Regions from separate parts of the Homo sapiens genome. Here region 2 is linked to region 1. Evidence: promoter capture Hi-C in human tissues and cell types (Jung and others, 2019). All regions are on one chromosome and are shown on one strand. The core of a region is centred on a gene start or on the middle of the fragment in contact, and the rest is flanking DNA. Distances in the headings are between cores, read along the strand shown.

Region 1 (5,668 bases), core at 1,199-3,698:
AACCCAGGATGATCTCATCTCAACATATTTAACTTAGTTAAATATAGAGTCTTTTTTTCAAATAAGGTCACATTCACAGATTCTGGGGATTTGCCTCAGGACATATCTTTTGGGGCCACTATTCAACCCACTACATTGCCTCTTTTTGTTATTATCTGTTATGGGTGGAACTGCGTTCTTCTCCGCCCCTGCCAGTTTCACATATTGAAGTCCTAACTCCCAGTACTCTAGAATGTGACCTTATTGGGAAATAGGGTTGTTGCAAATTTAATTAGTAAAGTTAAAATGAGGCCATTAAGGTGAGCTCTAAATCATATATGACTGGTATCTTTATAAAGGATAAATTTTGACACAGACATGAACATAGGGAGAATGCCATATGAAGATTATAGGAGACAGGGGTCATGTGTCTACAAGCCAACAAGAAACCACTGGAAGTAGGTAAGCATCATGGAAAATTCTCTCTCAAAGCCCTCATAAGGAACCAACCCTGCAGACATCTTGATCTTGGTCTTCTAGCCTCCAGAATTATGAAATAATACATTTCTATAGTTTAATCCACCCAGTTTATGTGCATCCTTATGACAGCCTTAGCAAACTAATACATTCTACATATATGAATAGCGTTTTAAATGGTGATAATCAAATTGTGGTTTTGTAATCTATAATTAATGTTGTATTTTATCTATGAACATCCCACTGAAAGTATGCTTTTAATTTCCTACTTTATAAACAACTCGGTAATAAATATGCAACTATGTACATGCGGCATTTCTCTTTTATGGATTATCTCCTTTGAATACATTGTAAGACATGGGAATCTAGGTCCAGAACAAGAAAAAATTTCGTTACTGAACACCTTGGGAATGTGTTGCTAAATTGCTTTCCAACAAAAGCGTGATTACAATTTACCTTCCATCTGCTATCTGTTAAGTGATTTCTATACGTTTTCACCAGCATTTGACATTATCATTTGAAGTGCTGTCACACACATTTTGAAGATACATTCAAATTTATTCTTGAGGAGGGGAGGGGTAACGAAAAATACTATAAATTTGGTTGTAACTTTTTTTCTGTCTCTTGCATTCAGGCGGTCACCAGAGGAAATTAGTCAGTGCCTTTAGGCTACACTTAGCTTAACACATTTCATTAAAGAGCCCAGTAGTAGAGAATTCAAGATGGGTGTTATTATTTTAATTTCATGAAATCACTCCTTAATTCTAACTTTCAAAAGTCAAATTTTATTTCTTTAATTGCATGTGGATTGTTATAATGAGGAGAATCAGAACAGCTTATAGGACAATATTTCTTTTCTATTTTTCTTAACACACCATATTTATTTGGAAATTTACCTCCTACATTGTCCAGGGAATTAGGATGGGCGTTGGCCGTTTTTCAGCACTTCCTGGTTGAGGCCAAGGGCTCCACTCACGTGCCTGTCCATCCCTCTACAAGGCTTCCCTGGCAGCTTGTTTTTCCGTTTAAAATTTAACAATGACCAAATCCCAAAAAAGCTACCAGGCTAAGAAATGAAACATCTTTTTTTCTTTTAAGTCCGGAGAAGTGCTGCTGAGCACAGCTGGCTCACTGCTGTTTCTGCGGCCCCCATCTCTGATCCTTTCTAGTCTCCTACCCACCCCCACCCCACCATAGGCAGGCAGAGCCGGATTTCTGCCCTTCAAACCCCGAGTGTGAGGAAGCCTCACCTGAAGTCCTCGCATCACCCTCCACCCTCACGCCCTTGGGTTTTAAAAAGCCACTGCGTTCGTGGGTCACTGCAGGGCGCCTCCGCAATGTCTTTAGCAGATACAAGAGCATCCCTCCCACGGGATGTGCAGTGTAGTCAAGCTGAGTAAACTGGGATTTTTGGCTGCCTTTTCTGCTAGGGTGGGTGGGGAAAGGTATGTCCCCCAAGCGTTCAGTTCAGACTAGAACCTTTGAATCTCTCTCCTGTCTCGGTCTCTCCCTCCACCCCCCTACCCCGCCACCTTTCACGGTGTGGGAGTTCTCCTTTCCCACACCAGAGAGGGGCGCCTTTCTAGCTTCCTTGTCCCCTCGCCCACTGATTAAAAAATGGAGAAAAAAACCAACCCCAAAACCCAAAACAAAACAAAACAAAAGCCCCAAACAAACAAACAAACCAAACCCACCGAAACCAAAACCAACTCCCCTCCCCCAAACCACACAAATGCGGGAGTCATAGCCAGTGGATCCGCTGGTGCTGAACGAATGGAAGCGCGGGGCGGGCCTGCGCGCGCGGCCGCCCTGCCCACGATGCTGTCGCCCCCGCGACCTGTAGGGCCTTCGCTGGCCCCTCACCCTCCTCCCGCCCCGGGCTGAGGCTGCCGCCGGTTTCGCGCCCAGTGCCGAGGCAGCGGCGGAGCCGGGGAAGGTCGGAGGGAGGGTGGTTTCCTCCCGCCCCACACCCAGTCTCCGAGCCGGATATATAGAGTGTCACGTTTGGGAGCCGAAAGACTGGAGCCGTTTCCTTGTGGCTGGAGCGCTTCCCGTAGCCTCGGGGAAGGAGCAGGATTTAGAGGACCACTAGTTGGACCCCATCCTCGTGCTGGAGGAACAGGTATTCCAGGGTCCCCAGCCCTGGCGCTCGCAGAGCCCACGCGCTCCAAAAGCAGAGACCGGACTGGGGGTGGCCCAGGAGGGAGGGCTCGGCTGGGTTCGCAGGGCGGGGCGGTTCCCGGCGGGACCTCGAGGAGGGTGGGTGTGAGGCCGGGTGGGAGGAGAGAAGCATTTGCGGAGGCTCTGCCCCCTGAAGCTGCCCCCGGCTGCACCCCAATCGTCACCGGCCGTTTACGCGCGGTTGGCGTCGGCGGAGCCCGCCAAGGTGGGGCGCGCGGGGGTTGCAAAGGGCAGAAAGCCGGGAAGGACCCAGCAAGGTTAATGTGGGGGGCCGCGCCTTGGGGACTGGGGACCCGGGAAGAGAGGCGCGGGGCCGAGTCCCACCCAGGCCTCCTGGGCCCTTGGGGCTATTCCTGGAGAGAGCGCGAAAATGCCGGGGCCACGTGTGAAACGGCAGCGGTCCTAGGTCCCCTCCCGGTGCCTGGGACCGCCAGGGCGCCCAGTCCTGGTCCCCGGAGCAGGTCCTCGCCAGCCCCCAGCCCCACCCCAGGCTGCGCACGTCCCTACCCTCCCACCTGGGCCTCGCCGGGGTCGTGGCTGACGCGCGCTGGGGCGACTGGTGAGGCCAGGGCGGGCTTTGCCCCTGTAGGAAGTTTTAGACATCTTCCTGCGGCCTGGGCATCCTGGGGGTGTGCAGGGGAGCAGGTGCCAGCAGACTCCCAACTGGAGTAGATGGCTTGCAGGAAGGCTGCTCAACACTCCTAGCAAGTAGAATTACCCGCGGGGCAGTCTCAGTCTATTAAAACAATTCATGCCCAATCGTATCCTACAAACCAGAGGAAGGCGTCTCACCTGCCAGCGGTGGCACCATTTCTTCCACGGTTGAGTTATGTGGTGTGAGCAACCAAGGTTATCGCTGGATCTGCAAGAGTTTGGCCACTCGTTGAATCACGTAAAGTGCCCCCATTATGTGATGAGCAAGGACAGAGTAGGGTCAGAAAAGTGACCAGGGAATTCAGGTAGATCGTGCTTTTCTGTTTGCTAGGTTGAGAGAAATTTGACACTGGGCAAATGGAAATTTGAGAATTACCCCGTGGTTTCAATTACCCATCTCTGTATATTCCCATTTATAAGAGCTGGAGATTTGACTGACAGGTGTAGTTAGTCCAAAATTTAGAAAGGGGGGCAAGGGACTAAATAAAAACTTAAGGCAGCCACCTAAACTGCAAGAGCAGGCATTTCCGCAGAAGGGATATTTGTGTGTGAGACTTCTAGGAGATGGGCATGAGGTTTTTACCAGGCCGACGCGTGTGTCAATATTTCATCGGTAGTATTTCTCAGGATCCACGTCTTTACAGTACTCTTTTCCTAATTCTGAGGGCTGCTTCTGCCCCTGCTGTATTAACAAATTCCTCACTTACTCCTATTTCTAACATTGGGCTATAATTATCTATAAAAGAGATGTAAATCACCATGAGTTGGTAAATCATACAGCTATTAGAGAAATTAAAGTAAATGAAAATATGCTTTCCTTAAAGGAAGCTAAAATGTGACATCCAGTTACAGAGGAAGAGGGAGAGGTTGAAAATAAATAAAATGGCTTATATTAGGGTATCACTTTGGGGTTTATAAAGCATATGATCATCTTGACCATCTCACCATCTGCTTTCCTATCTCCTGAGGAAGAAGCATTCTTGAGTGCATTTGTTTCTGGCAACGTCTCATCAGTGTTAAGAATTCCTTGATTTTGCATTAATTCCCATGCACTCATGAAAACTTACTTATTCACAAATATAGCCTTGTGAAGGATCATGCACAGTGACCACCAGCATGCTTGTCCCTACCAATATATTCTGACATTGTAGGCTCTGTTGGAACATGTATTACCTTTGAAGAGGGTAACAGACCAATTTGAGAATCTGATGAAAGCTATGGAATATGAAAGACAAATGCATACATATTAACACAAAATTCCACCTACAATTTCAGGAGTTCATGGCCTCCTTGATGCCCAGCCTCCTACATTCTAGATGTCCAGAGGCTCCAGGCAGGGCCAGCTTCATGGAAATACAAAACTGCAACCGCACAGGGCCTTGCACTTGGAAGGGCCCTGCGTTTGGTAATGTTCTGCTATCACCGTCTGCTGGCTTAATAATTTTCAAAGAGGCTCTGGATCTTCATTTTGAACTGGGTCCTACAAATTATATCCTGACCCCAGGCTGACAAACTTGGTCTAAAACTAACCAAATAACAGTGTTTGAACAGCAATCCCACATTTACGGTGAGTTCTCCAGTACAAACCTGAAATTTATCTGCTGCTCACTTAGGTGCTCTTGGACATGTCATTCAGTCTTCCTACATTTCAGTTTCCTCATTGACAAAATAAAGACAACAGATGACACCTTCTACTTTCTTTATTTTCAAGGTTGTACTATCTCTAAGTAAAAAGAGGTAATAATTGTAAAAAATGTCTACTTGCTTTGAATAGTTCTTTTCTAAAAAATATGCTGTTGTTGAAGGGTTAAACTTTGCCCTCCATTTTTCAGAAGTAGCTTGAGGAAGGTTGATTGAGCACACTGAAAAGACTGTAGAACCTTTCTGACCCTTATAGTTTGGTGGAAAATAAAACAAAAAGTAGGCAAGTATTCAGTGTGTTAAATACTCCTGAAATATCATTATTTGGACAAAATTAGAATTTTCAACTAAAGGTGCAGAATAACTTCTTGGATCCCAAAGGTAGTTATTGAATTAAATTAATGTTTGGGTCTAATTCATCCAAACGTCGAACGGTGAGAAAATGAGCCAATGACTGAAATTTTTTGAGGGGGTAATCCTTTTTGTTTCATTTAATTTAAAAAATCTGTAAGTTCAAAAGTTTGATCAAGTCATCCTTTAAAATATCCTAGGAAATGCCAAATCAATTTAAAGTACACCTAGTCTCTTGCCAAATACACCTAGTGACCTTTTGTAACTCTGGTGCCTCTTAAAGAGGAACTGAGAAAACAGGCAAGTCCTCTGTCCCCAGACTCCTCCCTTAACTACTCTCTGACCTCAAAACTTATCTTTATTCCAGCTGTCCTTGTTAGCATGA
Region 2 (5,668 bases), core at 2,070-4,569, 950 kb before region 1:
TTTCTGGTATGTTATGTAAATGGAATCATACAGTATGTAGCCTTATGTTTCAGGTTTCTTTCACTTAATGCTTTGATTCATCCATGTTGATGCATGTTTGTTGATGCTTGGTTGTTTTTTACAGCTGAGTAGTATTTCATTGTGTGAATATATCATAGTATGTTTATTCGCCATTTGATGAACAATTTTTGGCATTTAGGAATGAAGGTACTGTAAACATTCATGTGCTGTTCTTTGTACATTAAGGTGCAAGTCTTTGTGTAGACATATGTTTTCATTTCTTTTGGTTACACATCTAGGAATGGAATTCTTGGGCCGTGTGCAAGTGCATGTTTAACCTTAAAAGAAATTACCAGCTGGGCGCAGTGGCTCAGACTTGTAATCCCAGCACTTTGGGAGGCCGAGGTGGGCAGCTCACGAGGTCAGGAGATTGAGACCATCCTGGTCAACATGGTGAAACTCCGTCTCTACTAAAAATACAAAAATTAGCTGGGCGTGGTTGCGGGTGCCTGTAATCCCAGCTACTCAGGAGGCTGAGGCAGGAGAACTGCTTGAACCAGGGAGTCGGAGGTTACAGTGAGCTAAGATCGTGCCACTGCACTCCAGACTGGTGACAGAGTGAAACTCCGTCTCAAAAACAAAAAAAAAAAAAAGAAGGAAATTACCAAACTGTTTTCCAAGGTAGCTGTTTCATTTTGCATTCCCGCAAGTGATGTTTGATGTTCCAGTTGCTCCACATTCTGGTCAGCACTTGTCATTTTATTTTTAATGTTAGCTATTCTAATATGCGTTTAGTGAAAACCCATTTATGTTTTAATTTGAATTTTTCTTCTAACATATTGAGCGTCTTTTCCTGTGCTATTATTTGCCATCTGTGTATCTTCTTTGATTAAGTGTCTGCTGAAATCGTTTGTTCGTTTTTAATAGGGTTGTTTGTTATTGGTTTGCAAGTGTTTTATACAGTCTGGATACAAATTCATTATCGTATATATGTTCACAGCATTTCCTTCGAGTCTGAGTCTGTAGTTTGTCCTTTCATTTTCTTAACAGTATCTTTCAAAGAGCAGAAGTTTTAAATTTTGGTGAAGTCCAGTTTATCAGTTTTTTCTCTTATGATTTGTGCTTTTTTATCATGAGAAATTTTGCCTAATCCAACGTTGCAAAGATTTTTTTTCTTATGTTTTCTTCCAGAACTTTTATAGCTTTAAATTTTAGATTTAGGTCTGTGACCAATTTCGAGTTAATTTTTGCATATAGTGTGAGGTAGGGGTCAAGACTCTCTCTCTCTCTTTCTCTCTCTGTGTGTGTGTGTATGGATGCCCCAGTCTTGCAGCACCATCTCTTGAAAAAGACTATTCTTACTGTGTCCAGAATTGGTTCCTTCCAGTGGGTTCTTGGTCTTGCTGACCTCAAGAATGAAGGCACGGACCCTCGCAGTGAGTGTTACAGTTCTTGAAGATGGTGTGTCCGGAGTTTGTTCCTCCAGAAGTTCAGATGTGTCTGGAGTTTCTTCCTTCTGGTGGGTCCATGGTCTTGCCGACTTCAGGAGCAAAGCCACAGACCTTTGCAGTGAGTGATACAGCTCTTAAAGGTGGCGCATCCGAAATTGTTCATTCCTCCTGGTGGGTTTGTGGCCTTGCTGGCTTCAGGAGTGAAGCTGCATCCGAAATTGTTCATTCCTCCTGGTGGGTTTGTGGCCTTGCTGGCTTCAGGAGTGAAGCTGCAGACCTTTGCGGTGAGTGTTACAGCTCATAGAGGTGGCGTGTCCTGAGTTGTTTGTTCCTCCCAGTGGGTTTGTGGTCTCGCTGGCCTCAGGAGTGAAGCTGTAGACCTTTGTGGTGGGTGTTGCAGCTCATTGTTATAGCTCGTAAAGGTGGCGTGTCCGGAGTTGTTCGTTCTTCCTGGTGGGTTCGTGGTCTCGCTGGCTTCAGGAGTGAAGCTGCATACCTTCACTGTGAGTGTTACAGCTCATAAAGATAGTGCGGACCCAAAGAGTGAGCAGCAGCAAGATTTATTGCGAACAGTGAAAGAACAAAGCTTCCACAGCATGGAAGGGGACCCGAAGGGGTTGCTGCTGCTGGCTCGGGTGGCCTGCTTTTATTCCCTTATTTGGCCCCACTCACATCCTGCAGATTGGTCCATTTACAGAGAGCTGATTGGTCCATTTTACAGAGTGCTGATTGGTCCGTTTTACAGAGTGCTGATTGGTCCGTTTTGCCAGAGTGTTGATTGGTGCATTTACAAACCTTTAGCTAGACACAGAGCGCTGATTGGTGCATTTACAATCCTTTAGCTACACAGAAAAGTTCTCCAAGTCCCCTACCCGATTAGCTAGACACAGAGTGCTGATTGGTGCGTTTACAAACTGTTAGCTAGACACAGACTCTGATTGGTGCATTTACAATCCTTTAGCTAGATAGAAAAGTTCTCCAAGTCCCCACCTGACCCGGAAGTCCAGCCGGCTTCACCTCTCATTACTATCTTTTCTTCATTAAATTTCTTTGGCTTGCCTTGTTAAAAATCAGTTGAGTATGTTTGTGTGGTTTGCTTTGTGGACTCTATTTTGTTCCATTGTTCTGTGCGTCTGTTTGGCTAAAACCTCAGTCCTTATTATGGTAGCGTTATAGTGTATCTTGAAGTCAAAAAGCCTGAGTCCTCCAACTTTGTTGTTGTTTGCCAAAAATTTTTGAGTATTCGAGTTCTTTTTCTTTCCATGTACATTTTAGAATCTCTTTATTTCTATATAAAAGCATTGTGGAATTTTTAGTATGATTGCATTGAAGTTATGGATCCATTTGGGGAGAATTGACATCTTAAAAATGTTGTTTTCTAATCCATTAATAAAATACCTTTCCTGTCCCACTGCTATGGCTCATGCTTGTAATCCCAGCACTTTGGGAGGTCAAGGTGGGAGGATCGCTTGAGCCCAGGAGTTCAAGAGCAGCTTGGACAACATGGCAAAACCGCATCTCTACAAAAATGAGAAAAATTAGCTGGGTGTGTTGCCATGCACCTGTAGTCCCTGATACTTGGAAGGCTGAGGTGGGAGGATTGATTGAGCCTGGGAGGTAGAGGCTGCAGTGAGTTGTGATCATGCCACTGCACTCTAGCCTCTGCAACAGAGAGAGCCTCTTTCAAGAGAGAAAACAAAATGAAACAACCTTTCTACGTTTATTTGGTCTTTGATTTCTCTCTGTTTTTAAGCTTTCCGCATAAAAATGTTGCGCATATTTTGTTATGTTTGTATCTAAATGTTTTATGTTGTTTGGTTCTGTTGTAAACAGTAACCTTTAAAAATTTTTAAATTTCCAATTACTTATGTAAGTGAATCAGTATTTTAATATTGATCTTGAATTTTTGAATTTTACAACCTTGTTAAACTCACGAGTTCGTTCTAGTAGCTTTTGTAGCTACTGCTGTCTGCTGGTAGAGACAGCTTTATTTCACATTTTCTCATTTGTTTGCCTTTTATTTTGTTTTCTTGTCTCTTTGCACTGGCTAGGACCTTTGCTAATGTTAACTAGAACAAGTCAGATCAGCACAGATATCCTTGCATTGCTCTTCATCTTAGTAGAGAAGGTATACAGTCTTTTACCATTGAGTAGTTAGCTGTAAGTTTTTTGTGGATATCATTTTGACCCAGCCAAGGAAGTTCTCTTTAACTCCTGCTTAGAGCTTTAAAATTTAATCACAAGTGAATGTTATATTGCTTTTTTTGATTGTGAACATGATAGTTGATTACAGTAGAAAGTTGGAAATAAAGGAAGACTATAAAAAAAGTTACCCTATTTTCAGTAATCTGAGGTAACTGCTGCAAACATTGTGGTGGCTTTTCTTTCAGTCTTTTCTTTTGCAAATATATTTTAAAAACAAAATTGTTAATATTGTTTTATATTTTGCCCTTTTCACTCAGAATCACATTGGGAGTACTTGCATCATGAATTATTTTGAAAACTTGATTTGTAATGGTTATGGGTTATTGTGTTATATGGATATGCCCATCATTTAATGATTTTCTTATTGTTAAATAGTAAAATTGTATTTCAGTTTTCCCTGTTGAAATTAACATTAAATATTTGTGCTTAACTCTGATAATTTTTCAAAGTAATTTATAAAAATATGATTATCACTCAAAGTATATACATTTTTTTTTCAGGTTCTTATATCCACTGCCTCTGTTTGGTGCTCTTGAAATTTGTTCTTTAGGCTATTTATTGTAAGAAATTTGGGGTCAGTATCATTGGCTTTTTGGGCATCACCTTAAGGTAGAATCTTTGAATTTCAGAAACAGAGTTCCTTAGAAATCGGTCTAGTTCAAACCGTTTTTTAAGCGGTTTAGAGTCTGTAATCATTAAATAACTTTTCTGCCTATACTATTTTGTTTCCACTGATCTATACAGAATTACTGATGAATTACGTATAATGTAATATACCACCTGTGCTCTTCTTTTGATAAGAATTATAGAAATCTTTGTGCCTAGCTTCATGTAAAACCCTTTATGTATGTTGTTTTATTGAATTCCAACTGCTACTTTTTGGTAGTAACATTTTTTTCCATTTCATAGACAAAGGAAACTGTCTCCAAGTGAGCAAACTTACCTAAGGTTGTATTAATAGTAAGTGGTAGAGCTTGAGTTTGTTCACAAGTCTTCCTGAATCTGTGCTTTTATTTGTAGGCTATACTATGAGTATTATGTTATTTTAGGTATTTTGTATATATTATGTTTATTTTGAATATATTAATTTTAATGCTAACAATAAATTTACTAAGCAGATTAGCAAATTAGCATGAGATGTTATCAGTACTTCTGAAATGTTTGTCCAAATTTATATCCTCTTAAGTCTATTCTTATTTTCTAAGTGGCGTAAAGATTATTGTTGGCTATATGCCATACAATTTTACTTAAATAATTAGGATCATATTTACTGTGACTAGTAGAGGATACAACAATTTATTTATTTTGAAATGTGAAGAATTTTGTAATTATAGGTTTAATAAATGGAGATAAAAAATAATGTTAATTACTTTATAAAATGAGCTCTGTTATAATTCTGGTAAAACAATTTGTTTTCCTTAGAAGGATATGTACATTTTGGTATTTACATTTCAACATGGACTATGTGAATGAAATAATTAGTTTGTGAAGTATGAAATCACTTTTTCCTTGTATTCAGAGAAGGTTGGCTTTTCTGTGTCTACCACCTCCTATGTTTTTTATTATATTCAGCCCTGTGGTTAAAGAGTAGGTCTACATAGTCATTTTAAAAAGCTGCTTACATTTTATATTATGAGAATTCAGAACTTCTGCAATTGTAGTAAAGACAGTGCTGCAGTGTTATGCAAGATCCATTAATCTATGAATATGCTTCACTGACAGATGGGCTTATATGAATATTATTTAAAAACTACATGCTTAGACATCAGTAAAAGATAGTGATTAAAGATGAGATTAAGTATCATTTTAATTACGAATTTTATACAGACAACTTAAAATTAGGTTAGACCTTTTGCTTAGTTTGCCAAAATTGGGCATGAAAAACAAAATAAGCCTGTGAAAGCTGAATGACATTAAATGGGCCACCCTGAATCAGAAGACAAGTGGCAATGAATACCTATTTTCCATTTTGCTGAATGAGAAGAATGTTTAATAAATGGTGATAGTTTTCA

The links. Contacts are between HindIII fragments. The study calls those that stand out against the background at their distance.
Region 2: a contact is called between a fragment that was not itself captured here and the fragment with the promoter of FAR2 in region 1, in 1 of the 25 tissues and cell types used here (dorsolateral prefrontal cortex).

The regions. Positions count from the first base shown.
Region 1 is chr12:29,146,830-29,152,497 of GRCh38, forward strand. It overlaps FAR2 (fatty acyl-CoA reductase 2), which reads left to right and starts at 2,449. Exons shown (of 12, transcript NM_001271783.2): 1 at 2,449-2,578. RefSeq lists silencers at 2,297-2,356, 2,667-2,816. The HindIII fragment of the contact is 14,796 bases long and covers 1-5,668 here.
Region 2 is chr12:28,192,967-28,198,634 of GRCh38, forward strand. All of the region lies in intron 1 of CCDC91 (coiled-coil domain containing 91), which reads left to right. Among named protein-coding and RNA genes, the nearest start is that of CCDC91, 5.3 kb to the left of the region's middle. The HindIII fragment of the contact is 6,310 bases long and covers 165-5,668 here.